Linked DNA regions of Homo sapiens: regions 2, 3, 4, 5 and 6 are each linked to region 1. The links are contacts of gene promoters, found by promoter capture Hi-C in blood cells and fetal thymus (Javierre and others, 2016). All regions are on one chromosome and are shown on one strand. The core of a region is centred on a gene start or on the middle of the fragment in contact, and the rest is flanking DNA. Distances in the headings are between cores, read along the strand shown.

Region 1 (4,474 bases), core at 726-3,225:
TGGTAAAGGTCGCTGGGTGCGGTGGCTCACACCTGTAATCCCAGCACTTTGGGAGGCTGAGGTGGGTGGATCACAAGGTCAGGAGTTCGAGACCAGCCTGACCAACATGGTGAAACCCTGTCTCTACTAAAAACACAAAAACTAGCCAGGCGTGGTGGCGGGCGCCTGTAATCGCAGCTACTCAGGAGGCTGAGGCAGGAGAATCACTTGAACTCGGGAGGCAGAGGTTGCAGTGAGCTCAGATTGTGCCACTGCACTCCAGCCTGGGAGACAGAGCAAGACTCCGTCTCAAAACAAAAAAACAAAAAAACAAAAAAACAAACAACAAAAAAAAGTAAGGTCCAGAAGGATGCACGCAGAATTGTTACAGTGGTAGTCATGGGCAGGGGGTGGTTTGGGAAGAAAAATATTAATGATAACTTTTCAATATTTTATAGTGCTTGAATTTTCCAAAATGAGCATTTATGCTGATATTACTTGTGTAGCTAAAAAAAGGGTTAAGGAAATTTCATCAACAGAATATATCCCAAATACAGTGATAGAAAGACTGCATCAGCTACTTATCTTGTTGATATTCTACATTTCCATCTGGCAATGTTTACAAATGCAACTTAATATTTAGATTTAATATACAAAACAAAATGTATTTGACATTTTGGAAGGGGACTGAGGTTAGATACAGGACTTTAAGAATTACCTCACCGAATTACTCTACCTATTTGAAAAGTTGTATGTCAAAAATATACATAAACGGACTGAAGAATCCATTCAACAGTGACGGCTGGAACCTGATTTTCTTGTGTATTCATGCAGTGCCCGGCACATAGTAGGTTAATACTGACTGAATGATGAATGAGTCCACAGTTTAGATCTTTTTAGCAGCACCTACTGATCTGAAAGCAGGAAATTAGCAAGGATAGATGTTTGAGGTTCTTGTTAGTTGCTTTTCAAATGACGAAGCCACGGGGAGGAGCCCCGCTCTTTTTTACTCAGTAGGTTAAGAATTTGGCTTAACAGTTTAGGGGGTTACATTTTGGTGATCTGTGAGTTGAAAAAGTACTCAATTTCTCACTAAAAAGGGAAAAAAGCAAGCGTGTTGTCACTCGTTATATTATATATATACTTTTTGCTCAGACCAGAGGGAAGGGCTCTGGTGCAAACGTTTCCTGGTTGTGAAACTGTGAGCAAATCACTCTCTTTGTATATGTATTTTCATCTGAAAAAAGGGAATAATGAGTAAACTTTTAAAAAATGCTGGGAATATAGCCATTCCATGTTTGTACAATGAATTTTTCATATAAATTCAATACTAGACGGTTAGGTCGAAATGCACTCAGATACTTAAATTGTATACAAATTCCAGTCCGGGCAGCCTCTTTCACCTCATTCATCGTCCCAGCCACACCTATGGGGCTGGTGTCGGTCCCAGCGGTCGACTCCAGCGCCGGGCTGCCAGAGGCTGGTCCCTGGACGTGTCATCTACAGCCTCGCGCACCCGGGGCAATTCCACCTCGTTTCTGGGGTCCTTGTGGGACATTCCTTCCTACTCTTGGGAGTCAGGTCCCCATAGCTTTTCCTGCCGGCAGAGGGAGGCATTCAAACCTGGCAGGCCCGGTCTGCGAAGCCGGAAGGCCCGCGGGGCCGCGGGAGGGCGGGCGGGGTGCGCGGCGGAGCGGGAAGCACAAGGCGCGCGCTCCCGCGAACGCAGGAGGGAGGCTGGGGGCGCGCGCGCGCGCCGGGCCGAGGGGCCGAGAGGCGGGGTCTTACAGCGACCGCGGGAAGAGGGCGCCCCAGAGCTGAGCCGGAGGCCGGCTGCCAGCGGGGCGAGGGTGGGCGCGAGCGCAGGGGCGGGCCCCGAGGGAGGGCGGGGACGGTGAGGGGGCGGGGTCGGGCTAGGCGGGGACGCGCTCGCGGGGTGGGGAAGGCGGGGGCGCGGCGGTGGCGGGAGCGTGCCCGGTCCCCGCCCCTGTTCCCACTCTCCTTCCACCTCGGACCGGCCGGGGCTCCGCAGAGCCAAAGCTCGCTTGTCCCCGGAACCGCCCTGCTGCCGCCGCCTGCTTCCTCTGCTCGCGGTTAGCCCGTCAGTCCCTGCTCTGTGCGCGCCTCCATCTGGGCCATGGATGGGTAAGTACTAGGCGGCGCGGCGGCCGCACCGGGTTGCCTTGGCGCCGCTTCCACCCGGCTCTCCGCGGGACGCGTAAGGGCTGGGGAGCAGTGCGCGGCGCCGGCGGCCGGAGGAGCGGCCCCGGCCAAGCCCGACGGCGGGGCTTCCGGGCGTCTCGGTGGGGATCCCGGAATCGCGGAGTTGCCGTCCGCCGCAGGCTCTCCTTTCCCCACGCGGCGCCCCGGACACGTCCGCTGCTTCCTAGCCTTACTCGACACACCCGGGAGCAGAGGAAAGCCCGGTCCGGCCGCGGTGCCGAGGTCCGCCCTCCGCGCCCCGAGTCCGGGGAGCCCAGCTCGGCCTCCCGACACTTCCTCTCAGAAAATGGTGCGCGGCGCTGGGGGAGGCGGAGGCGGCGCGCGGGGCGGGCGTCCTCCTGCCGGGGGAGTTGCTGTTTACCGGCGAGGTGGGGCGAGCGGCCGACGGCGGGTGCACGCGTCGGTACACGTCTGGGCGGCGACCTGGTCGCAAGCCATGGTCCCACGCGGGGTCCCAGGGCCGCCGCGGGACTTGGCCGAGGTCTCCCGACTTGTGCTGTGAGATACGTTAACGCTTTCTCGACACCAGGGGTCTGGACTTAGTGACCATGGACGCTTCCCCCTCACCTTTCTCTCTCCCCAAGAAACTTAATGAATTATCTGCCCGTGTATGTAAAATATGATGTACGAGCGATTTTCGGGGGCATTTCAAATGCTCAAAAATTTAATGGGGGTCCGTGACCAAAATAAAAAGATTTAGAGTCTATGTATATAAACTGTTCTCTGGGGACTCAGGGATATGGGGTGGGACTTGACATATTTTGGTAATTAAAGTAACAACTATGTTAGGATTTTGGTGAATTAATTGAAGGTTGTAGTATCTGTACCTACGGATTAAAAAAAAATCTCCAACTCGGTTTATTCCCATTATGTATTTGAGGTTTTTTTTAGCTTGTTACCTACTTTTGATGACAAGATTTCTGTGAGGTTGTGGAATATATGCAACTTGCTAGAACAGTAAAAGTCGTTCACATGTTGCCATACAGTTGATGATATGCTATTTGAAGATGAAATCTTCCAACAGCTTTTGACCTCATTAGATTTCATTTATTTTAGTTTCACAATATTAAGTGTATATGACATTTCGGATTGATTCATTTGAATGCAGATTGCACACTGCTACAGACATCAAAGTGGAGTTTTAGATTTTATTCATGATTGTGATGTTCTTTATTTTTATTTGATTGAAGCTTCAAAAAATTTCTTAAAATTATAACTTTTTTGGGTACACAGTAGGTGTATATATTTTGGGGGGGAATTGAAGCTGTTTTTATTGTTTGATTGAAGTTTCTTCGAGAACATTGTTGAAAACTTATTTCACATTACCTTATTCAGTTGCATTTTATATGTTGAAAAATTTTGTGGTCGTAAAGATTTGTGTCACTAATATTTTGGTTCAGGCAGGCTGTGAATTTAGCATTTCATTATGTGTAGTTAATTGTCTGGAAGGTTTGACTTAAATAATGGAAGCAGGCTATTTTTTTGTGTCGTAAAATGTATAGTTATAATAAAGAGGACTCTTGAATTTTGCGTCTTTGCTGTTAAACTGTAGGATAACTGTGAAGTGCAAACTTACTTTTTGATAGTGTTTAAGAAGTTTACTCTCCCTTCACGCTATTTGTGGTTTTAAAGGTAGTAATGGGTTTATTGGTTTGAATATGCAAGGCAGTTATACAGATACTGACTGGAAGGTAAGTTCATTTGGAAGTTCAAGTCGGAGCATGATTTGCCCTTTGTATCAGAACCAATAACCATAGTGTTACACCATTTTATTTTTTATGCAGCAAGCGTCCAGTTACTTATCACATTTAAATTTTAGACAAATGAATTTCAAGTTTCAGAAGTTTACAAGGAAAAATAAAAAATCTACGTGGTATTTTAAAAACAGTTTACATCATCTAGAGTCATTTATTCGTTGACTTTTATGAGGTAATGATGACATAGGTTATTAACAATATGTAGAATGTATTCGTAGCTTTCTTCTAGGAGATATGAAGAAAAACATTAATCGAAGACAGTTTCTTGGGGCTTAGAAGAGAAGAATTTTTGTATGGCAGGACTTTAAAGGGGATTTTCACACCCTGGTCTTAAGGGATGTGGTTTAAGAATACAGTGCATTTTTGCCTTCAGGAGACTAATTAAATTTCTACATTTTCCAACAGCCTGAAAAAGATCCTTTTTCCTTATTTGGGTAGTTAAAAAACAAACCACAAGCCACCAGTCAACATATCTTTCTAGTTCCTCCTCAAATCCCAACTGTCTCTCGTGTGTG
Region 2 (4,474 bases), core at 557-3,056, 850 kb after region 1:
TAGCCGGACGTGGTGACGCATGCCTATAATCCCAGCTACTCGGGAGGCTGAGGCAGGGGAATCGCTTGAACCCAGGAGGCGGAGGTTGCGGTGAGCCGAGATCGCGCCATTGCACTCCAGCCTGGGCAACAAGAGCGAAACTCCGTTTCAAAAAATAAAATAAAATAAATAAATAAATGAATAAAAATAAAATAAAATAACAAACCCATTGTTTTTTACTCAGATTCTGTATTTATCTGGGGTGGCTTTGGAAGGATCCATTTGAAATTATGGGAAGTCAAATTTCCCCAAACCAGTCTTTGGTGCAGCTACTTTCTATAGTCACGGAAACAGTAAGGAAAGGTTGAATGCACCAAACTGTTAATAGGGATTATTTATGGGCATGAGTGGGATGAGGGGGGATGGTGGGTATGCAGTTGGGAGAAGACCTGTATACACCTCTCTATTGTTTGTAAGTAGTTCATTGTGTATTTATTTTGGAGGCAACATCAAATAAAAGAGGAGCATACATGAAAAAAGGGGTTGGTTAACTTAGTGTAGTATGAAGTTACAAACAAAAAAGGGTGATGGTAGTGCAGTGTTTTGAATTAACATGGAACAATGTGTGTGAAGGAATAATTGATCCAGAACTTTATTGTAGAAACCTGTCCCCATCAAAGCCATACATGGGGCTGTATATATATGTCCAGAGAAAAGGTCTTCTGCACACTTAACTGTAACTGTTAGTCATAATTTCTCTGCAGAGTGGGATGGTGGGGCTAGGAGGAAGGACTTTCACTTTTAATTTTATGATACTCCAAATCATTTGCATTTTTTTTTTACAAAAATTATGTATAATTTTTCTTTTTTTTTTCTTTTTGAGACGGAGTCTCGCTCTGTCCCCCAGGCTGGAGTGCAGTGGTGCGATCTCGGCTCACTGCAAGCTCCGCCTCCCGGGTTCAAGCGATTCTCCTACCTCAGCCTCCCGAGTAGTTGGGATTACAGGCGCGCGCCTCCACGCCCAGCTAATTTTTGTATTTTTTAATTAGAGACAGGGTTTCACCATGTTGGCCAGGCTGGTCTCGAACTCCTGACCTCGTGATCCACCCGCCTAAGCCTCCGAAAGAGCTGGGATTACAGGCGTGAGCCACCGCGCCCGGCCCAAGATCATGTATAATTTCTATAACAAAAACAATAAAGGAAATAAAAATGTCTTCAGTGTTGTACCTTGTACTTGGCCTATGTTACAACAGGAATGACATATATTCCATTTTTAAGACATTACTTAGGGCTTTATAGATTTCTGCTTTAAGGAATAAATGCAATTTCAATCTATTTAAGACTTGATTTCTTCTTATATAAAAAAAGTATCTGATCTTGTATCTAATTTGTTATGACAGTACCATCACTTAAAGTACAGCAATTATGCAACCCCTGAATTTGAATTTCATTTTGCAAGTGTACATGACCTCACGGACAAAGCGAAGGCAGAAAGTTAAAATCAGCATATCGAAAATAAATCACTCTAGTTACCGAAAAGAACATAGGGTATCTGAACAAAATCTCAGAGCTCACATAGGCATAGATACTTCCATGTGAACTTTAGGAATCTTGCCTTATCTAACTTTTGCAGGGCTGAGTGGACCCCCTGCTCCCGCTAGCCGTTTTGGGAGCACCAGCCACCTCCACACCAGAACTGGGCTGTCGGGGGCCGCTGCGGCGCAGGGGCTCGTCCGGGACTGAGTCAGCGCCGGGGCCGAGAAGTTCGGCGGGAGGCGCAGGGCGGGGCTTCCTCCCGCCGACTCCGAGCCCGGCTCTACTTTTCTGAGTCCACGTCTCTTCCTTTGGACAGGCGTGTTTCCCCAGGTCGGGCCCAGCCAACGTGACAGCCGCAGACCTCGGAAAAGGGCGCTCCGGCCCCGCCTCGAGGATTTCCCCCGGCCGCTAGGGCAGCCCGGGCCCGCTCGGCCCAGCCCCTCACGGACTGCGGCGCGCGGCTCCCCGGGGCCCGGCCCGCCGAACGCCTCGCTCTACAGCCCTCACCTCGCGGCGCCGAGCGCAGCGTCCGCGGCATGGAGACCGGCTCCGACTCAGGTCAGAGGCCCGCCCCCGGGCCGCGGGGGACTGGCCCTGCGCGCGCGGCGGCGCGGTTAGGCCGGGCCGCCCGCACAGGCCGCCGCGTGTCGAGTCCGCGCGGGGAGCGCACGCGGGGCGGGCGGCGACAGGTGGGCAGGACGAGCCGCGAGCGAGCGAGGGCGGGCGGGCGCGCGAGGGGCCCGGCGGGGGGGCCGCTGGGAGGATGGCTCAGCTCTTTCTAAATATAAAACCGGCGTGAGTTGGGCGAGCGCGGCGCGGAGTCGCAGAGCCGCCGCGCGGGCCTGGCGCACGGGGATTCGGCCGCACAGACGGCGGCGGCGGCAGCGGCAGCGGCTCCGCAGAGGCGCGAGGCTGCGGGAGCGCCCGAGTCGCGAGCTCGCGGGGGCAGCGAAGGGCGACGCTCGCGACGCGGAGGACGCAGGCGGCGGCGGCGGGCGGGCCTCGGGGCACAGCGCGGTCCGCGCCGAGTGAACGGAGGCGGCTCGCGGCCCCTGCCGCACCGCGAGCCGCGAGCCCCCCGGCCGCGCCCTGCCCCCCCAGCCCCTCCCTCGTTCCCTCCCCGGCGCAACATGGCTGCGGCCGCCGCCTCCGCCTCCCAGGATGAGCTGAGTAAGTGCCGCGGCCGAACCTGCGGCCGCGAGCCGGAACGGGCGCCGCGCGGTGCCGGGGGCCGGCGGCCGCATGAGGGCTGGGGCGCCAGGCCCGGTGGGCGGGCGGCGGCCGCGGCGTACGGGGAGCTGGGGAGCCCGGGCCTGGCGGACGGGCGGGGCGCGGACCGTCGCCGCTGGCGTTTGTAGGCCTCAGGTTTGCACCGTCACGTTGCGAAATTGAAACCGGAGCCCCGGGCGGAGCCACCTCTGCCCGCGATCCGCCCTGGCCCGGGGTCGGGGGAGCCCAGCCCCCTGCCCACTGAGCCTCGGCTGGCGGGAGGGCCGGAGCCCCGGGGTGACGGGCAGTGTCCGCCCGTCCCGTCTGACCCCGCCTGGCCCCGGGTCCCCGACGGCTGGTTGAGTTATAGAAATGGAGCTTTCGGGAAGGGGGAGAAGGTGCCTTTTTGTGACACTCTAGTAATCAGCCGAAAGGTCACGAATAGGCGGTGACCCTCAGATGGAGCAGGGAGGGCGGAGAGGGTCGCCGGTCGAACCGCAGGAGAAACCACGGGGTGACAGCGCTTTCAGAAAGGAGAGTTAGTGCCCCCTCGATCGTACGCGGTGCAGCCTTCCCGGGGACGGCGGTCCCTGTCTGGGGAGAGCGGTGGTCACCCTGAATCCCAGGCCGCCCCGCCCGCCGCCGGGGTTCGCCTCAATGCTTTGTGGGAAGTGTAGTTCCGGGGCGCCGCGGACCCACGCTGGGGTCATAAATACCGAAGTTTCATAGGACATAGGACATGTGAGATAATTTCTGATTGCGTTTTGAGTGTTCTCCCCCCCAAGGGTTTTCTTTCTTTCCCTTTTTTTTTTTCTCCCAATGCTGCCCTTCAGTTTATGGCAAAAACAAGAAAGGTGTTATTTGAAGATGATGTGGGTTTTAAATGGAATAAAGCATGGGTGAGGTGTTGCAAGCTTTATGAAGCTTACGTTGTTAAAGCCGCTTCTGAATTTCCATATGAAAGTAGTTATACACGTAATGTATGTTTTTCTGGTGCTTGTCAGTTTAAAGCCACTTTTATATACATGATCTCACTTTTGCCCTCATAGCAACCTTGTGAGGCAGATAGGTAGGAATTATCCTTGTTTTAAAGAGGAGGCAGGTTTGGAGAGATTAAGTTCCTTGCTGCTTTGACACAGAACTGGTGGAGCAGGAGTACTGTTTGCTTTTTTTGAAGCTGAAGTAAACACTTGGTGTGATCCTGAGCAGATTGGAGAGTCGGAGGAGACAAGGTCTCATGGTGCGATTAGAGAGAGAAGCGGGCTACAGATTGCTCTTCTGTCGGTTCCACGTGGAAGCACCACCAGGCCTTCTGAGATCAGTTCCATGTTTTGTTTTAATTGGAAGAAAAGTACACATACCATAAAATTTCCCGTCCTAGCCATTTTTTAAGTGTACAGTTCAGTGGGATTGAGTACATTCACACTGTTGTGTAATCATCACCACCATCCATTTCCAGAACTCTTCGTCTTGTAAAACGGAAACTTGATACCCATTAAACAACAAATCCTCATTCCCTCCTCCCTTCGGCCCCTGGCGACCATCATTGTACTTTCTGTCCCTGTGATTTTGAGTATTCTTCCTACCTCGTGTGAATGGAATCATACAGAATTTGTGACTGGTTTTATCTTTATTTAGCATAATGTCCTCAAGGTTCATCCATGTTGTTGCGTGTGTCAGAATTTCTTTTCCTTTTAAAGGTTGAATGATATTCCCTTGTATGTATATATCACATTTCCTTGTCCATCTA
Region 3 (4,474 bases), core at 716-3,215, 730 kb after region 1:
AAAGAAAAAAAAAAGAGAGAAGCAGAATGCGATATGTAACCCAATACCGTTTCTATAAATTAAATGTATATGACCACAGTGCACATTATGTAAGAACATGGAAAAAAAAACTGTATGCAAATCAAATACATCACAGTAGTTACCTATAGTAGGAGGAGAAAAGCAGGAAATTGAGTTTTTTTGGTTTTCTTTTGAGACGGGATCTCACTTAGACACCCAGTCTAGAGTGCAGTGCCACGATCGCAGCTCGCTGCAGCCTCCACCTCCCAGGTTAAAGCTATGTTGCCCACGCAAGTCTTGAATGCTTGGCCTCAAGTGGTCCTTTTGTCTCAGACTCCAAAAGTGCTAGGATTACAGGCATGAGCCACAGCACCCAGCCTGGGAATGGAGTTTTGTTTTATATTAAGTTACATAAATTAATGAGAAGGGAGAGAGTGAGAAAGAAAGAATTTGGCAGACCAGTGGGGATAAAGTGCCACCAACTCTGATTAGTGTGAAGAATTCAACTCTCGGCATTGTGTTTTTAGGGTCCATCCAAGTTGCTTTATGTACATGGAACCCAGTGCTTCTGATGCTGTGTATATCCTGTGGCATGCGTCCACCACGCTTGGTCCACACACTCTGTTATGGGCTGAACTGTGTCTTCCCCAATTTCATGTGTTAAAATCCCCAAGTCCCAGTACTCAGAATGTAACTGTATTTGTAGATAGGGCCTTTAAAGAGGTAATTAAGGTTACATGAGGCCATATTAGTGAGCCCTAATCCATTTGACAGTATTTGAAGACAAGGCCTTCAAAGACGTGTTTAAGTTAAACGGAGGCTGACAAGTGGGGCTCTAATCCAATATGGCGGGTATCCTTACAAGGAGAGACATTGAGCCAGGTGTGGTGGTGGGCCTGTAATCCCAGCTTCTAGGGAGGCTGAAGGAGGATCACCTGAGTCCAGGAGTTCAAGGCTGCAATGAGCTATGATGCCCACCATTGCACTCCAGCCTGGGTGACAGAGCAAGACCTCAAAATAATTAAAATTAAATAAATAAATTAAAGACATTGAATCTTCACAATGACTGGAAGTTAGGCATTCTTCTTATCCCCATCTTGCAGATGGCTGAACTGAGTGAGGCAAGGAGAAGGTAAGTAAGTCTTTGAAAGCTACACCACTAGTAAGTGGCAGGTGCAGGCTTCGAACCTGCAGTCGTCTAATACCAACGACTTAGCTTCACGTTCAACCCCTGCCTGAGACCACCTCTCCTTGCAGAAGCCAGGTCAAGGCCTGATGTTTGCTAGGGTGTGATGGGTGGGGTGCCTCAGTGGCAAGAGTGCTCACTCCTGCCTGGGGGAGTCTGGCAAGGGTTCACAGAGGTGACCTTGAATTGGCTGGTGGAAGGCGAGTAGGTGTTCAGCAGGCGGACTGGGGACAGACAGGCAGGGTGTCTGCACCGCAGCCCTGGGCGAAAGCTTGCACTGCGGGCAAGCGGCAGGGCTGACGGGGAGCCCAGGGATCGGAGCCAGCACCGGGGGCTTATTAGGGCTGCGGCCGCCCCAGGCCCTGCCTTTGGACCCTTCCGGCCTGCTTGGCAGATGCCACGGTTGGTTCCCCCACGGGGCATATTTCCGCCGGGCTCCAACTTAGGACCCCAGGCGGAGGTCCAGTGTCAGCTGGACAAAGCTCTGTTAGGAATTTTCCTATCAGGAGTCCCTAACCCCCTACACGCACACACACGGGCGCGCGGGCGCGCACGCACACACACGCACACATGCACACATACGCGCGCGCACATGCACATAGGCACACAGAGATACGCGCACACACACACACAAACGCACTCAGATTTCCCGGACCCTGGTTTTCCTCCTGTGACCCTTTCGGGGCCGGGCTCTCACCCTAAAGAAGCAGCCCCGCCCTGGGGTGGCCCCACCCTCTCTTGGGACCTGTCATAAGTCGGACCCCGGGCGCCCGGCTGCGCAGTCCCAGCCGCCTTCCCCAGGCAGTGGAACCTTCGGGCTCCTGTAAGTAGACCTCCTGCTTTCTTTCCTTCCCTTTTCTCCCTCCTCTAACCCCCTTGCTTTCTTCCTGCCAAGTTTCTAGACGCCCCAGTGGAGGAGGTTTGCTCTTAGACCTCCTCCCCTTACGTCGAAATGACCGCTGGGTCTTGCACTCGGAGGATCTTGGGAGCCGACGTCCCGACGCCTCCCGCCCCCGCAGTTCCTTGGAGAGCTTGGAGCCGCGCGCCGGAGGGAATAGGAAAGCTTGGTTACAACCCGGGACACCCGGTAGCTTCCTGCACCCGGGAGGGGGCTGGCCAGGGAACTTGCTGGACTGCACAACTGGGGGAGGGTAGAAGAAGAAAGATCGGGGTGGGGATTCGGGAATGGGCAAGCGGGCGGCGGGCGGCGGGAGGCGAGGGTGGGAGCAAAGGGCGAGCGGGCAAAGGCCGGGCGCCGCGCCAGGCCCCCTCCTCGGGCGGGCGAGACTTTCCCGGGACCTGGCCCCTCTGCGGCCAGACCCTTTCCAGGAGGGCTTCTGGACTTGTAGCGAGTTTGGAAGCCCAGCGGTTGCTTTTTTGGGGAAAGGGACAAAGATGTGTGAACTCTAAAGAAGTTGAACTCATAGAAATAACGACTAGAATGATGGTTGCCAGAGGCTGGGAGCGGGTTCGGGGGGGAATGGGGGCTTGTTGGCCAAAGGGTACGAAGTTCAGAGACGAGAGGAGTAGGTTCTGAGATCTGTTGCACAGCAGAGTGACTAGAGCCAATAATGTGTATTTCGAAATAACAGAGTAAACTGCAAATGTCTCACCGTAAAAATGATACGTAGGGCCTGGCGCGGTGGCTCACGCCTGTAATCCCAGCACTATGGAAGGTCGAGGCGGGCGAATCATTTGAGCTCAGGAGTTCTAGACCAGTCTGGCCAACATGGGGAAACCCCGTCTCTACTAAAAGTACAAAAATTAGCTGGGCGTGGTGGCGGGCGCCTGTAATCCCAGCTACTCAGGAGGCTGAGACAGGAGAACCGCTTGAACCCGGGAGACGGAGGTTGCAGTGAGCTGAGATCGCGCCATTGCACTTCAGCCTGGGCGACAGAGCGAGACTCCGTCACAAAAAAAGTCTTAATTTTAAAAAAAGAAAAGAAGGAACAACCCCGGGCTGCAGATCAGACCGCCCCCCTGGCTCCCTCGCAATGCGGGAGTGCTCCCTCCAGGTCACCGTGTCCCCTCCCGCGGCACCGGTAGGGGAGCTGGGGAGATCACTGGCAGCTCCAAATGGTTTCGTAACTGGATTGTTTGTAGCGGATGCACCCGCGGGAAGGCGCAGGTCCCAAGTGATTCGGCAGAGTTCAGTCCAAGCAGAACATCCTGAACCCCCAGCTCGGGGCAGCCTTCATCATCTTCCCTTGCTTTGGTGCAGCGTTTCAGCTCAAAATCGGTTTGGTGTGGAGTTTAAACTCAAATCCCTACTGGGCCAAAGAAAATTCGCACCCGATGGCTGAGTGCAAGTGGTTCACACCTGTAATCCCAGCACTTTGGGAGACCGAGGCGGGCGGATCGCCTAGGCAACACAGTGAGGCTCCTCTCTACAAGAAAAGAGAGAAAAAAAAGTATTTAAAAAAAAAAAAAACGCACCTGAAAATGGGGCGGAGCAGCGGCGCCCTCCGGTGGTTTTCAGGAGTTCTGAGACTGCCTTGAAATGCGTGGCTGTTTCCATCTGAAAGAGGTGCATGGACTTCTATCTATTGGGTTCTTTGTGTTTGATGCTTTTTCTTAGAATTCACTCCATGTGAGATGAGAAACGGAATGGAATATTCGCACTTCCGGTAACTGTTCAGTGCCGTAGAGAAACTCTAGCCTAGCAGTGGCTGGGAAGAATTTCTTTGTTGTTTTATATTTTTTCCTTGTCTTGAAGATTTCTTTAAACCTCAGTTTCCTCATCCGTACACTGGCAATGATACTAATGTCTATCTTATAGGGAAGTTATAAGGATAAAATGAGGTAATCTATATGAAGTGCTTAGCACAGCACCAGAAACATAGTAAATGTTAAATGAATGTGGTTGGCATGATATGATAATGATGGGATTTGAGGATATTGTAATTGTGCTGTCTGGTCTCAGTTTGACGGCTAGAGAACTGTTAGAATGCAGTCACTTCATGGCAGTTGACTACATATTTACTGTGTTCTAGGAGCTTCAGGATGGTTCGTACTAAGACATGGACCCTGAAGAAGCACTTTGTTGGCTATCCTACTAATAGTGACTTTGAGTTGAAGACAGCTGAGCTCCCACCCTTAAAAAATGGAGGTAAGTCATACTAAAAATATTTCAGAGTTGGAAGGGACTGTATCAGTTAGCTTTTGCTGCATAACAAACTACCCCAAAGTTTAGTGACTTTAAGCAACAACGGTTTATTAGTTCACAATTCTTTGGGTTGGCAATTTGGGCTGAGTTAAGCTGGGTGGTTCTTCTTAGGTCTCATCTGG
Region 4 (4,474 bases), core at 962-3,461, 700 kb after region 1:
TTGACACAGAGGGTAAGCGTCCACTTGTTTAACTTCCAAAGTCCATAAACTCCCTAAATCCCCAAAAGTCAAACACACTAAATACTATTGCATGGTCTTAGTTTATAAAGCAGTGTGTGAAATCATAATGGGATAACTGATATACAATCCAAATATCACTATCTTTAACCTAATTATCTATATCATCCTAACAACTACTGCATTCCTGACACTCAACCTAAATTCAAGCACCACAACCTTATTACCATCTCGCGCCTGAAACAAATTAACATGATTAACATCCCTAATCCTATCAATTTTACTATCCCTAGTAAATCCCATTATGATTTCACACACTGGTCCAGGGCTCCCTCACGCACCAGCAGGGCTTCTGGCTGACTACAAGGAACAGAGGTTGGAGCTTCATATGCTGAAGTGCCTTGGATGGAGAGTTCTTTCCTATTTTTTCTGGAGTCTTTTTTCCATCACTTTTTACATAATCGGCAACAAAGCCCTTTGGGGCCTCAGCACTTTCCCAGTTCCCCAGCCATCCCTCAGTTAACTGCCAATAAAAATTACAATCTCACTAACGCTAGTGAGAATTTAATGAACTAGGTAAATTAAATTTTACCTAGTTCAATTCACCTAGTTTACCTAGTTCAGGGCCCGCCCCTCCACCACTCATTTTATGACTCCAAATTATCCAAACTGCTCTGGAAGGCATCAATAAAGTTGTTAGCTCCTTGACTATTTTCAGCTCTGGAAAAACAATCTGGAGGAACAATCCAAGGTAAAATTATATCCACTCAAAGTACAATCATTAAAAGCAGGCTACCTGGCAACATAGAAAATTTTGCCTCGGGAAAAAAAAAAAAAGGCTAGAAAAGAAATACTTTACAACTACAATCGCTGACGCATTAGTATGATGGGGCCCTTCAAGCAGTAATACCACCATCAAGTACGATTTATACTTCGTGATGTCCTAGATGGTTTGATTTTTTGCAGTAGTAGAAGAAAACAGCATCGGGCTAAATCTCTCATCCCCACAAGACTCAATAAAACCTGTCAAATGAAATACAAATACATATTCACAAAATATTTCCTACTAGAAATTCTCAGAGTTTTGTACCCAAGTCATTAAGCACCTATTTATGGATCCTATGGAAAGGGGGGCGGTTCGCACACTTATCATTTAATCCCCATAATAACTCTGAGAGGAGGTATCATGGCCTTAATTTTGCATATGAAGAAACAGCTATTTCAACATAATAAGTCACTATCCAAGGTCATACAGGGGTGTCACAGCAAAGACTCACATCCAGCCTTTTGACTGGTGTTCATTGTTCTTCTCAGTGTTTTCTTAGTTCCTTAAACCCAAACTAAGCGTCACCATTAACACTATTTCCAGAAACCAATTTTCTGTCATATCAAACTGATGCGATCACAGTTGTCACTTGATATTCGAGACTTTCCCTGTTGTGGGCTACCCCAGATCCTACTAATAATGATCACCCTGCTTTTCGAATGTGAAATGCACGTTATTAAAATATTTTCACGAAATCGTAAGATGGCCAAAGTTTTGCATAACAATGTCACAAAAAGGAAGAGGGCAAGGAGGCTAGCTGTGCCCCCCAAGGCCCCGTGGGGCCGACTCGGCTCTTTCACAGGGCCACGTGGGAAACGTGAGTATCTTAAAGGTCGCGGTGGTGGCTGTGCTCAGTTTCGGGGTCACAGAGGCCCACGCTCCGCGGACCGGGGTCGGAAGGCGCCGTGGGCTTCCCGCGGCCAGTCTTCGAAGCCCCTCCACGCCCGCAGGCCTCACCTTGAGTGTCTCGTAGGCGGTTGCCACCAGCAGGAAAGCCTCCTCGGCGCTCTGCGGCGTCCGCCCGGGGCCCTCGTCTCCGGGCTGGGGCCGGTAGCGGTCAGGGTGGTAGCGCCGGGCCAGCTGGCGGTAGGCCCGCGCGATCTCCGCCTTGCCCGCCGAGCGGCTCACGCCCAGCACCTCGTAGCAGTCCCGCGTGCCGCAGTAGAGCCCCTCCACCAGGGCCCCCGCGGGCCGCACCAGCAGCAGCGCCGGCAGCAGGGGCGCCAGCAGCATCCACCAGCGCCGGCCGGCAGCCCCGGCTCCCCAGCCGGGAGAGAGCAGCGGCGCCCCCATCCCCAGCCTCGCTGGCGGCTCTGCCACCCCAGCGATTCTGCAGCACTCAGCCGCGCGCCCGGCTAGTCCCGTCTGGCCCCAGCTACACGTCAGCAGCCGACGCCTCCGCGCAGGCGCACAGGGCGCGGCTACAGCAACTACTTCCTTCGCAACCCGTTGGTAGGGAGAAGGACGCCTCAGCCACTAGGCTGCTTCCGGTGTGTCACTGAACACCTTCCCCGTACCAGCAGCTGGAGGATTTGTTTGGTAGCACCTGGGGGATGGCTCTGTCCCGGGCGCACTTAGGCGGGCTGTGCGGAGCGCTTTACCTTCCACAGTGTCCGGCACACGCATCCTTTTCGACATCATCACTTGACCTGCTGCAATAGGTAACCTACCTGGCTCTCTCGCATCCCGTTATCAGCGTCAAGAAGATTTGCACGTAGGCCTTTAAAGCCAGCCACCAGCCCCGGGCGCCTTCCTCTCACTAACCCCATGCTGCCTTTCCAAACGGAAGATGAACTTAGCAATTCTAGGCGCTGCCTGTGTACTAGGTAGGGACCCTGAAAGTTCATAGCCATCTAGTTCAGTTTTTCTCAGCCTCCACGCTATTGACATTTTAGACCAGATAATTCTTTGCCTTTGAGGGGCTGCCCTTTGCATTGTAAGATGTTTAGCAGCATATCTGGCCTCTCCACACTAAATGCCAGTAGTGCCACCACCCCCAGTCATGACAATAAAAAATCTCTGTACGCGGGTCTGTGCGTCCACCTTGGGCTGCGCGTTCCCGGGACAACCTGCTGGAAGGATCAAGCGATCCTTCCAAAATGCTAGGATTACAGGCGTGAGCCACCGTGCCCGGCCTACATTTGAATTTCAGATAATAATTTTTTAGTATAAGTATGTCCAAAATATTGCATGGGACTATATGGCAACATGAAAAACTTTGCCTCAAAAAATCTGTTTCTATCATTCATCTGGTAAATGTTTATTGAGTCTCTACTCTGAGCCGGGCACTGTTACTTAGGCACTGGGGATACAGTGGTGAGCAAAGTAAACAAGAAGCTCAACTTCAGAGAGCATATATTCTGATGGAGGATGACAGTCAGTAACAAATAAATAAACGTTCAGATATAATCAACTCTTTTAATAAAGTGAAATCAAATACTGATACATAGCATTATATACTTATAATACATAATGAATATACATTATAATTTTGTATTTCTCATTGAATAAATATATATCTCTCATTACATATATCTCCCTCATTACATATATAATATATATAATCTCATTACACATATATGTCTCTGTCATTACATATATAACATATATGTGTCTATTTTTCACCTCAGCCCACTAAATATTGCATGGGACTATATAGCAACATATACAGTTATATATGTAATGAGAGAGATACATGTATATGTAATGAGATACAAAAGTTATATATATAATAACAATTTTGTGTATCATATATGCTTATTTACATTTGTATCTCATATATGTTTATATATGCTTATATATGGCTTATATATATGCTTATATATATATATAATGAGAAAGATAAAATGAATGGAAACACATGGGAGGGTCTCCTGAAATTATTAGGATCGGGATCAATTACAAGCATCAATTCCAGTAGGAGCTGACAGCTAAACTGACTTTGGAGGACGAATAGAGAATGGCTTGAAGGATGTGAATTAGAGAGGAGTTTGGGGACAAGGGAGTGTGAAATAAGTACCAAGAAGAGAAACGAGCCATGGGCAAGAAAAAAATAATAATAAAGCTTTTCAAAAAATGAAAGACAACCTATATGACTAGGAGTAGAGGTAAGGAGTGTAGGAGATGAAACTGGAGAAAGCCAAGTTGCAAAGGGTCATTTTATCCCATGTCAAAGAAGTTGTTCCTTATCTTAAGAGCAATGGAAAGGCCAATATGGGGTCTTTGAGCAAAAAGTGACACCTTCGGATTGACATTTCAGAACCATTACTCTGCCTGGGAAAATGAGTTGGGATGTATCAGGAAGACCATTAGGAGACAGTTATGAGTCCAAGTAGCCTGTAATCCCAGCACTTTGGGAGGCCGAAGTGGGTGGATCATCTGAGGTCAGGAGTTCAAGACCAGCCTAGCCAACATGGTGAAACCCCATCTCTACTAAAAACACAAAAATTAGCCAGGCATGGTGGCAGGCACCTGTAATCCCAGCTACTCAGGAGGCTGAGCCTGGGAGAATTGCTTGAACCCAGGAGGCAGAGGTTGCAGTGAGCCGAGATCACACCATTGCACTCCAGCCTGGGCGACAGAGCAAGACTCTGTCTCAAAGGAAAAAAAAAAAAAAAAGTCCAAGTAACA
Region 5 (4,474 bases), core at 1,179-3,678, 670 kb after region 1:
TGAAACTCCATCTCTACTAAAAATACAAAAAAAAAAAAAAAGCCAATTAGTGGACGTGGTGGCAGGTGCCCGTAATCCCAGCTACTCGGGAGGCTGAGGCAGGAGAATCGCTTGAACCTGGGAGGCAGAGGTTGCAGTGAGCTGAGATCATGCCATTGCACTCCAACCTGGGCAACAAGAATGAAACTCCATCTCAAAAAAAAAAAAAAAAGAATATCTTTCCTCTTTCTTAGCTACTTGGCGGGTAGACAGGCATCTGACTGGCTCACAGTTTTCCTTTCTACCTCATGTCCCCACATTGTCTTTGTGAATTTCCAACAACCCTCATTTCAGTTCCCTGACTTCTTCCCCTCAAACAGCCTTCTCCTCAATGCCAACAGATACAGTTACAACACCTGTAACTGCTCCACTTCTGAAATTTTACACTCCAGTATCCTACTCTCTGATCACAATCTCTCCTTCCCATCCAGGGTGCTGCCTCCTTTATTCTTCCTTTATTCTGCTCTGACCTCACCGAGATCACCAGGCATCACCTCCTCCCCTTCTGTCTCACCTATCACCAGGAGGCTGGCTGCATTCCTTCTCTATCCATCTAGGCTCAGCCTCTTTCTGGCCAGACCTTCACACGCCTTGCCCTCCGGCCCCACCTCCACCTTTCTGGCATACCTCCCCTGCTAACTTACTCCTCTTTCAACTACCGTTCACCTTCAGCACTCACATTCCAGGATGGTAAAGATTGCTGCAGGAAAAAAAAAAAATCACAAATATGACCAGCAGTCTCCCTTGTCACAGCAGCTGGGTCTTCAGTCACAGCGCATCTGCGTGCCTGCTCAGGGGCCACTCCCTTAGTCCCCTTTCCTCTGCCTTAGAAGAAAACCTGGCCTCCTATTTCACAAAGAAAAGTGTCACCATACAAGTTTAGCCCATATCTAGAAACTTATCTTTACACACACCCTTACCTTCTTTCTTCCTGTCTCAGAAGCTGTGCCACCAATCCCCCACCCCCCCGTAGCCCTGTCTCCTCTACCAGCAATTGGCTTCCATTTGTTTCTTCCCTGGAACCTAAAAATATAATTTGTTACTTCCTCTCAACCCTAAAACATGGCTTTTCATTTCCTAAGTTAAAAAAACACGTTATTTCCTCTTTAAAACTAGGTTTCTTTAAAAAGAAAAAACGTCTGCCTACCCTATGACAGTCCAGATTCTGCTTTTACTAACACATAAGCCACCAGACCTCTGCATTCCACAGCCCTCTCTCCCTTTACCCTGTTTATTATCTTCACTCCACTTAGTACATGAAGCGATGCTATGTATCCGTTAAGTTGCTGTTTACCTTCCCCTCCAGAACCACCCTATTCCCTGTAGCAGTGCCAGGCACACAGCAAAGGAGAAACTGAGGCACAGGGACTATCCTGGTTGTGTTCCTTCTTACAGATCTTCTGCAAATAATGCTGCACTCGTAGCTAAACACAGCTCTACAACAGACGCCTTTTAGCCAACTGACTAAACGCTGGACATGTTGACTGAGCCCCCAGTTTTTGGAAATCCCTACTTCCTTGCTCGGAAACCTTGCTGTCTCTTATTTCCTCTTCTCTAGGCCTTGCTCGGAAACCTTGCTGTCTCTTATTTCCTCTTCTCTCGGCCACCGGCCATCGGTGTGGCTGGTCCCCGGGTCCCAGGCTCTGAGCTCTGCTCTTCATAGAAGAGGCTTTTTCGCCCCAATGCACTTGAATGACCTCTTTCAGCCCTGGGCGCTGAGCTTCAGGCCATGAGGACAAATACCTCCCGGATGACTCCCCGGAGTCCCCAGGTCCGCAGCCGAACTCATCATTTCCCCAAACCTGTTCCCCCTCCTCTCTACCTCGGCGGGTGGCAGCGCCGTCCACCCTGTCACGACGACAGAAACCCGAGCATCCTGGCTCTCCTCCCTCTCGCTCTCATCCTACCAATCCATCACCAATTCGCCGCCCTGCGGTGGCCTCCCCAGCCCTGGGTCCACCCTCCCGGCCCGCGCGTCGCCGGCATCCCTTGCGCCCTCCGAGGAACTGACCACGGCCGCCTTCTGGAGTGGGCGCACCCCCAGGGACCGGGACCGACCACGACCGCGGGGCCCCCCAGGCGCGGCTTCCTCCCGTCAGGCCCGGGCCCCCGGCTTGCCCCGCGCCCTCCCTCACCGCGGACCCCACCGCCCCCGCGCCCCGCCGAGGCCTCGCCGCCGCCACCGAGTCCCCCGCTGGCGCCCGGTCCGGGCCGCCGGCCTCCTCTTCTCACGCCCCGCGGGCGGAAGGACCGGAGCGTGGGTACCCGGGGCCCGCACCTTGATCCTCTCCACGCCAGCCTCCAACTTGAGCTGCTCTACCAAGCGCTGCAGGGCGCTCGCGCTAGCCCCGGAGGACATGGCGGCGGCGCTGGGCTCCTAGGGGCTGCTGGGCCCGGCCGGGCGGGGAGGAGCCGCCAGCCCCGAGCGCGGGTGCCGCCCCGGGGCGGGGAAGCAGCTGCGCCCGCCCCGCCGCCCCAGCCCACCCGGCGCGGAGCCGCTTGCCAGAGACAGCGGGGACCCCAGCGAGCTGGCAGTGCTCTCCGCTCCTCAGCGCCTGAAACCTGGGTGGCACCTGCAGCTGGGCCTGGAACCGAGGCGGGGACCCGCAGAGCGCGGCGTCCTCCAGCGAAGCTGGCGCCCCTAGGATGAGCAGGAATCGCGAGGGCGTGGGACGCGAGGATGGAGTGGGCGGCAGCAAACACGCACCCCTGAGAAATGAGAACTGGAGCCAAGGTGTGACATGAGTTGGAGAGATAAGGGGCCTTGCCAGACAGTATCACCGGGGAACCAAGGAGAGTTCATAGGATTTTCATGAGGCAGCAACAGGTTTCTAAATGACCCTGTTACTGTTTCACGGAGATCCTACCAGTTGATTTGGTGGAGTATGGTAAATTGGATAAAATCCCAGACCCTGACATCTTTGTGAAACATACAGAATAAAATTAAATTCAGCGTTTCTCACTCTCATCTCACCATTTAACTGTCATCATTGTTTCTATTCTGCTGCTTTTTTTTTTTTTTTTTTTTTTTTTGAGACAGGGTCTTGCTCTGTCACCCGGGGTGGAGTGCAGTGGCGTGATCACAGCTCCTTGTAGCCTCCACCTCGTGGGCTCAGGTGATCCTCCTGCCTCAGCCTCCTGAGTAGCTGGGACTACAGACACACACCACCACGCCCGGCTAATTTTTGTATTTTTAGTAGAGACGGGGTTTCACGATGTTGGCCAGGCTGGTGTTGAACTCCTGGGCTCAGGTGATCCTCCCACCTCAGCCTCCCAAAGTGCTGGCATTATAGGCCTACTGCATTTTTTAATAAGTGTTTTACAAAACTGGGATCGTTACTATATTTAAAATTTTTGTGTTGCTTTTTTCCATGTATCATTAATACGTCATTATTCTTGTACACCATTGTATTTGTCAGAACTCACTTAAACTGAATATTGCAAAAGGTAATATATTGGCTTGTGTAACTGAAAAGTCCAGGGACTTTAAACTAGTGAATTCAATTACCCAAATAATAATTTTGGGGCTCTCATCCTCCTTGTTTTGATTCTGCTTTTCCTGAGATTAGCCTCATTTTCCTTGGTGGTAGATGGACTTCTCTAGTGGTATGAAGGAAGGCACCACACTTTCACTGTCCCCATCTAGCAAACCCAGGAAAAATAGTACCTCTTTTCTTTCTAATCGTTCCAGCAAAAATCCCCATAATGAACCTCACTGGCTGGTATTAAGTCATGGGCCCACCCCTGGCCCAATTACTCTTTGAAGGCAAGGATGTGTGGCATTGACGTGCTCAGATTAGCTGTGCCTGGGCCAAAGGGAGACTTGCACATTTGAAAGCCCTCTCTAGTGGCCAATTTCCTCACCACAAAGAAATTAATATATATCTTAGTAAAGAGATGAAAGTACATGTTGGGAACATTCAACAATCAATTCTGAGACTGATGAATAGGACAAAATAGAATGATTTCATATTTAAAAGATATGGCAAAGAACTCAGTGCAAAGATATACATACTGGATTAGGAAAGGCTCATCATAGATCGTGAGAGCTGGACTTTGGAGATACGTGTCTTGCAGATGGCTCAGAAGGAAGAACAGTCCAGTATGGAGGACAGCTGGAGGCGATGCACACATGTAGAGTGAATAAATTTAAAAATAGAGGAAGCTCTAGTGACTAATAGCAGATACAAAGTTGCTAGGGCCAGAAGTCATAGAAAACCTCACATACACACAAAAGTTTATGGTAAACAGTGGGATAGCCACAGGGTAAGGCATTTTGGGAATATTAATCTGAGATGAATGTGCAAAATGAACTGAAGTTGAGAAGATAAATGGCTGATGGTGGGGGAGTAGCTGGAATGAGGCCCTGGGTAGGACTGTTAGAGTAGGAATGAGGGGGAACAAATTTAGAAGACAAAATCAGTGGTACTTCATG
Region 6 (4,474 bases), core at 697-3,196, 580 kb after region 1:
TTAAAATTTTGCTTAGGCTACGCCTGGCTATTTTGAAGTGTAAGTCCATAAGATATTTTCCTCCATTGATTAATCTTTATTGATAAAGTATTAGCCGTTACAGCTCTTTTGGGATATTTGGCTATTCCTCGGTGTCCTAGATAATACTAAAATTTATTGTACTTTTGCCTTTGTTCCAGAACTATGCTACATGCTCTATATGCACAGTACAATGAAGAGCTACAGAGTTTAAAATGTGATTGAAAAACCCAGCTGTATCTAATGACTGATTACATTAACTATCTAGATCTCTTTGGATAACTTTTTGTTTTTTTCTTATTCCTTTATATTTCTTATTTCTTTTCAGATTTATTTATTGATGATAAAGGAATACTTTTTGTAAGTAGTAGAAAACACCTACCAACTTTGCCTACTCTCTTGAGTAGACTAAAACTGTTTTTGGTAAAGGATCCTCTTTTAGATTTCAAAGGACAGATCTTCACAGAAGCTAATTTTTCCAGGTACTTACTTAATTGACCAATGCTGTAAATATTTTTAAGAGGTGAAAATGTTTTAGTATGATCACAAGCTTAGATGTTATCAACAATGTTTTTTTTTGTTTTGTTTTGAGATGAGTCTTGCTCTGTCGCCCAGGCTGGAGTACAATGGCGCAATCTCGGCTCACTGCAACCTCCGCCTCCTGGGCACATGCGATTCTCCTGCCTCAGCCTTGCTGAGACTACAGGCGTGCGCCACTGTGCCCAGCTAATTTTTGTATTTTTAGTAGAGACATGGTTTCACCATGTTGGCCAGGCTGGTCTTGAACTCCTGACCTCAGGTGATCCACCCGCCTCGGCCTCCCAAAGTGCTGGGATTACAGGCGTGAGCCACTGCACCCGGCCAATAACTTTTATCATCGTTTTACCTCAACTTTAATTTTAATGATTATGTGTTTTGGTTGGCTACATTTAGTATGTAACTTGCTTTTAGTAAACACTAATTAATGTATTTTTTTTTAAGGGAATGTTTCTCTCTTCAAGAAACTTTGGAAGCTTTTGTGAAAGAAGATTTTTGTATGGATAAAGTGAACTTTTGTCAAGAGAAACTAGAAGATACAATATGTTTAAATGAGGTTGTAATACTGGCTTTCAATAATATTTTAGTAAAAGTAGTGAGGCACATTTTTGTAAAATTTGTGTAATATACATTGTCTACAATTGTCAAATTAAAAAGATTTTATAATGGAATGAACATGTATCAATTAAGAAGTCAAATTTACTTCTAAATAGTGGTTCTCAGCCTTGGCTGTATGTTGGAATTACCTGAATAGTTAAAAAAAAATGTTGAAGCCTGAGATATATTCTGATAAATTGGTCTGGTGTGCAGGCCAGTCATAGGGAACTTTAAAATCTCTTCCAATAATTGTAATCAATATACCTGGTATAGGAAATTAAGTAGTCATGTCTAGTTTAAAAATTGACACCTGAACTAGAAATATTGATTTGTGAGTTATACACAAAAAATAGTACTTGAGCTAATGAGAATATTGCAAGAGTAAGAATATAGAGGGTCCAAGACTGAATTTTAGTTTTCTGCCAGTGTTTAACAAGGATGATAGCATCTTTTGCATATTAAAGGCCAAACTTCTCAAAGATGCATTTAGTTTCAATAGCACACAAAATGGTCATAATATCAGTATGTAAAGAATTCTAGCTATTGCGATTGCAATAACTTTTTGCAGCTGGACAAGCTCAGAAATCTAGGCCCATATTGATTAGATGCGTTCACAAAGCTACTTTAAAAAAACATTTTTTGGCCGGGCGCGGTGGCTCACGCCTGTGATCCCAGCACTTTGGGAGGCCGAGGTGGGCAGATCACGAGGTCAGGAGATCGAGACCATCCTGGCTAACATGGTGAAACTCTGTCTCTACTAAAAATACAAAAAATTAGCCAGGCATAGTGGTGGGCGCCTGTAGTCCCAGCTACTCGGGAGGCTGAGGCAGGAGAATGGCGTGAACCCAGGAGGCGGAGCTTGCAGTGAGATCGCACCACTGCACTCCAGCCTGGGTGACAGAGCGAGACTCCATCTCAAAAACAAAACACAAAAAACATTTTTTTAGGACAACTTAAAATGTTTTATATTTGGAGATTTTAATGGACTTAAAGCACTTAAGGGGTTTCCTTACAATAAAAATTTTAACATGATGGTAAAAAGGTTAATTCACCAATAGGCCCCATTCCTCCAGTACCTCTTGCTTCCCAGGTTAACCCTGAGAGTTGTGGACTTAGTCTCTCTTGTTGAGGAGTCAAGTTCTGTTGGAATGAAAGAGAAACATACTCCATGGATCACAGTAAAGATCTATTCCATTCCATGATCTCATTTCACTTCTCACCATTTATTATCTCTCATCTACTGCAGTGACTGTTTTTAATTTAAAATGTTTACAATTTGCTATTAGCCAAAAAGAAGCTATTTCTGCATCTAGGGATATTGTACACCACTAATGTAATGAGTGACCATAAAATACAATACTCAGAGAGAACATTGCTTATAATAGAACGTATTTTTAGCTGCTACATTTCTGTTTTTTTAAAGTATATATAGCTTTAACAATTTTGAATGTGGATTTAGTTTAAAATTTGGCACATCATTTAAGCAAATTTTGTCCACTTATGATTTCGAAAATATTTATTTGGAAAGCCTCTCTAAAAACTTTTTTAAACTATGTTTTTTCAGCCGTCAAGTTTTCTTATTGAGTATGAATTCTTAATACCTCCAAGCCTCAAACCAGAAATTGATATTCCATCACTCTCAGAACTGAAGGAGTTATTAAACCCAGTGCCAGAAATAATAAACTATGTAGATGAAAAGGAAAAGCTTTTTGAAAGAGGTGAGAATTAATTGTAAAATGTATTACTTGTAAAAACCACTTAAGAATGTTTGTTACATAGGTTCTTGTTTATTAAAATTTTTCTGAACCTCCAGATTTTGCAAAAATGTTCTGCAAGTTACATGTTGAAATCTCAGGATTATTTTTGATGAGATTATTTTCTCATTGTCATTTTCTTGTTGTTGTTGTTGTTGTTGTTGTCGAGACAAAATTTCGCTCTTGTTGCCCAGGCTGGAGTGCAATGGCAAGATCTCAGCTCACCACAACCTCCGCCTCCCAGGTTCAAGCGATTCTCCCACCTCAGCCTCCCGAGTAGCTGGGATTACAGGCATGCACCACCACACCTGGCTAATTTTGTATTTTTAGTAGAGATGGGGTTTCTCCATGTTGATCAGGCTGGTCTTGAACTCCTGACCTCAGGTGATCTGCCCGCCTCGGCCTCCCAAAGTGCTAAGATTGTAGGCATGAGCCACTGCACCCAGCCGTCATTCTCTTTGTATGACTTTCAGGTTTAAAACGTCTCTGAAATTTAACCATTTCAAGATAATTATACAAATAAAACTAAAACACCTATGACTATACAAATTTTTGAAGAGTTGTTTTCTTATAAACAATAAAAACATTATCAACTTCTATACTGACATTAGTTAACTATGGAGAGGCTCACCATAAAGAGCTCAGAGTATGGATTCGTGGAGTCAATGACTAGGAGAGTCATAACTTAGAACTTAGATGGTTTCATCCCATTTAGTCTTAGTAAATTTAGTAAATATTATTGAGTTATTTTTAATGACAGTATAAGCCCAAATATTTAACTGCCCTCTCATAAATTTCATTTAAAATGATCAAAGATATATAATATCATGGAGGAAAGGAAGGGGGATCTGCGATATCCATTGAGAACAGGGATGCTTGCCATGAACAGACCACAGACTTGAAGGAATTCTTACGATTAAAACTAAATCAGGGAATTACTGTTCTGCCTGCAAATCAAAGCAAGGGAATGAAAAGCCAACCTGGGAAAGTAGATCAAATCCATACCAGAACTTGCAAATATAGTAGATCTCAAAATGCAGGGTGGGCCATAGGCTTATTGGCAGGACACAAATCTCAGCTCCGTAAATCAAATGTAAAGGACAACAAATGACTTTACTGAGTGATTATACTGTTAAACTCCCAGCCTTCACTTGACTCGGCTGCTGTACTAAGTAAAACAGAGTCACTGCCACAGAGGACTTCTAACAAGGAAACTTATACACATTATTGAAAGGTCAGGGGGTAGGCAGTGTCCCAGGTACCTTTGGGTTGTCACAACAATAATAATAAAAGTGCTTAGTACAGCAATAAAGTTGCCTGCTACAGGGATATCTCAAGCCATAACATCCTTCCTATTTCCCATGCTCAAAGTGTAAGTAAAACTATATAGATTTGCCTACTCTGAACATTCAATAAAAAAGGAATCATATAATATGTCATCTGTGACTTATTTCACTTAGCATAATATTTTCAAGTTTATTGGCATTATCCAACGTATCAGTACTTCATTCATTTTTATGGCTAAACAATATTCCATTGTATGGCTATAGCACATTTTGTCTATCTGT

What was found. Contacts are between HindIII fragments. The CHiCAGO score rates a contact against its expected background, and 5 or more counts as called.
Region 2: a contact is called between the fragment with the promoter of ECPAS here and the fragment with the promoter of PTBP3 in region 1, in 5 of 17 cell types (fetal thymus, activated CD4 T cells, total CD8 T cells and 2 more). The highest score is 6.5, in fetal thymus.
Region 3: the fragment with the promoter of PTGR1 here is called in contact with the fragment with the promoter of PTBP3 in region 1 in 1 of 17 cell types (fetal thymus); the score reaches 5.7 in fetal thymus.
Region 4: the fragment with the promoter of DNAJC25 here is called in contact with the fragment with the promoter of PTBP3 in region 1 in 14 of 17 cell types (naive CD4 T cells, fetal thymus, total CD8 T cells and 11 more); the score reaches 11.6 in naive CD4 T cells.
Region 5: a contact is called between the fragment with the promoter of GNG10 here and the fragment with the promoter of PTBP3 in region 1, in 2 of 17 cell types (neutrophils and fetal thymus). The highest score is 5.8, in neutrophils.
Region 6: a contact is called between a fragment that was not itself captured here and the fragment with the promoter of PTBP3 in region 1, in 3 of 17 cell types (M0 macrophages, M2 macrophages and endothelial precursors). The highest score is 7.2, in M0 macrophages.

Annotation. Positions count from the first base shown.
Region 1 is chr9:112,331,120-112,335,593 of GRCh38, reverse strand. PTBP3 (polypyrimidine tract binding protein 3) reads left to right here and starts at 1,975. Exons shown (of 14, transcript NM_001163788.4): 1 at 1,975-2,124. RefSeq lists an enhancer at 931-1,901 and silencers at 1,651-1,970, 2,121-2,610. The HindIII fragment of the contact is 11,957 bases long and covers 1-3,394 here.
Region 2 is chr9:111,481,715-111,486,188 of GRCh38, reverse strand. It overlaps ECPAS (Ecm29 proteasome adaptor and scaffold), which reads left to right and starts at 1,806. Exons shown (of 50, transcript NM_001364929.1): 1 at 1,806-2,073. RefSeq lists silencers at 1,707-2,246, 2,367-2,486, 2,757-3,176. The HindIII fragment of the contact is 4,796 bases long and covers 1-3,640 here.
Region 3 is chr9:111,597,138-111,601,611 of GRCh38, reverse strand. It overlaps PTGR1 (prostaglandin reductase 1), which reads left to right and starts at 1,965. Exons shown (of 10, transcript NM_001146108.2): 1 at 1,965-2,009; 2 at 4,180-4,295. The coding sequence starts at 4,190. RefSeq lists an enhancer at 1,542-2,114. The HindIII fragment of the contact is 792 bases long and covers 1,460-2,251 here.
Region 4 is chr9:111,629,071-111,633,544 of GRCh38, reverse strand. DNAJC25 (DnaJ heat shock protein family (Hsp40) member C25) reads right to left here and starts at 2,211. Exons shown (of 4, transcript NM_001015882.3): 1 at 1,802-2,211. The coding sequence starts at 2,137. It overlaps DNAJC25-GNG10 (DNAJC25-GNG10 readthrough), which reads right to left and starts at 2,211. Exons shown (of 3, transcript NM_004125.4): 1 at 1,802-2,211. The coding sequence starts at 2,137. It overlaps LOC107987116 (a long non-coding RNA gene), which reads left to right and starts at 2,342. Exons shown (of 2, transcript XR_001746897.2): 1 at 2,342-2,505. RefSeq lists enhancers at 1,478-1,527, 2,258-2,347 and a silencer at 1,878-2,167. The HindIII fragment of the contact is 9,325 bases long and covers 1-3,910 here.
Region 5 is chr9:111,659,559-111,664,032 of GRCh38, reverse strand. GNG10 (G protein subunit gamma 10) reads right to left here and starts at 2,428. Exons shown (of 3, transcript NM_001017998.4): 1 at 2,318-2,428. The coding sequence starts at 2,398. The region is part of intron 1 of DNAJC25-GNG10 (DNAJC25-GNG10 readthrough); the gene reads right to left. RefSeq lists enhancers at 1,368-1,417, 1,618-1,717, 2,788-2,847 and silencers at 2,008-2,127, 2,158-2,607. The HindIII fragment of the contact is 12,879 bases long and covers 1-4,474 here.
Region 6 is chr9:111,754,721-111,759,194 of GRCh38, reverse strand. It overlaps SHOC1 (shortage in chiasmata 1), which reads left to right. Exons shown (of 28, transcript NM_001378211.1): 6 at 347-500; 7 at 1,000-1,111; 8 at 2,717-2,870. Among named protein-coding and RNA genes, the nearest start is that of SHOC1, 38 kb to the left of the region's middle. The HindIII fragment of the contact is 1,826 bases long and covers 1,034-2,859 here.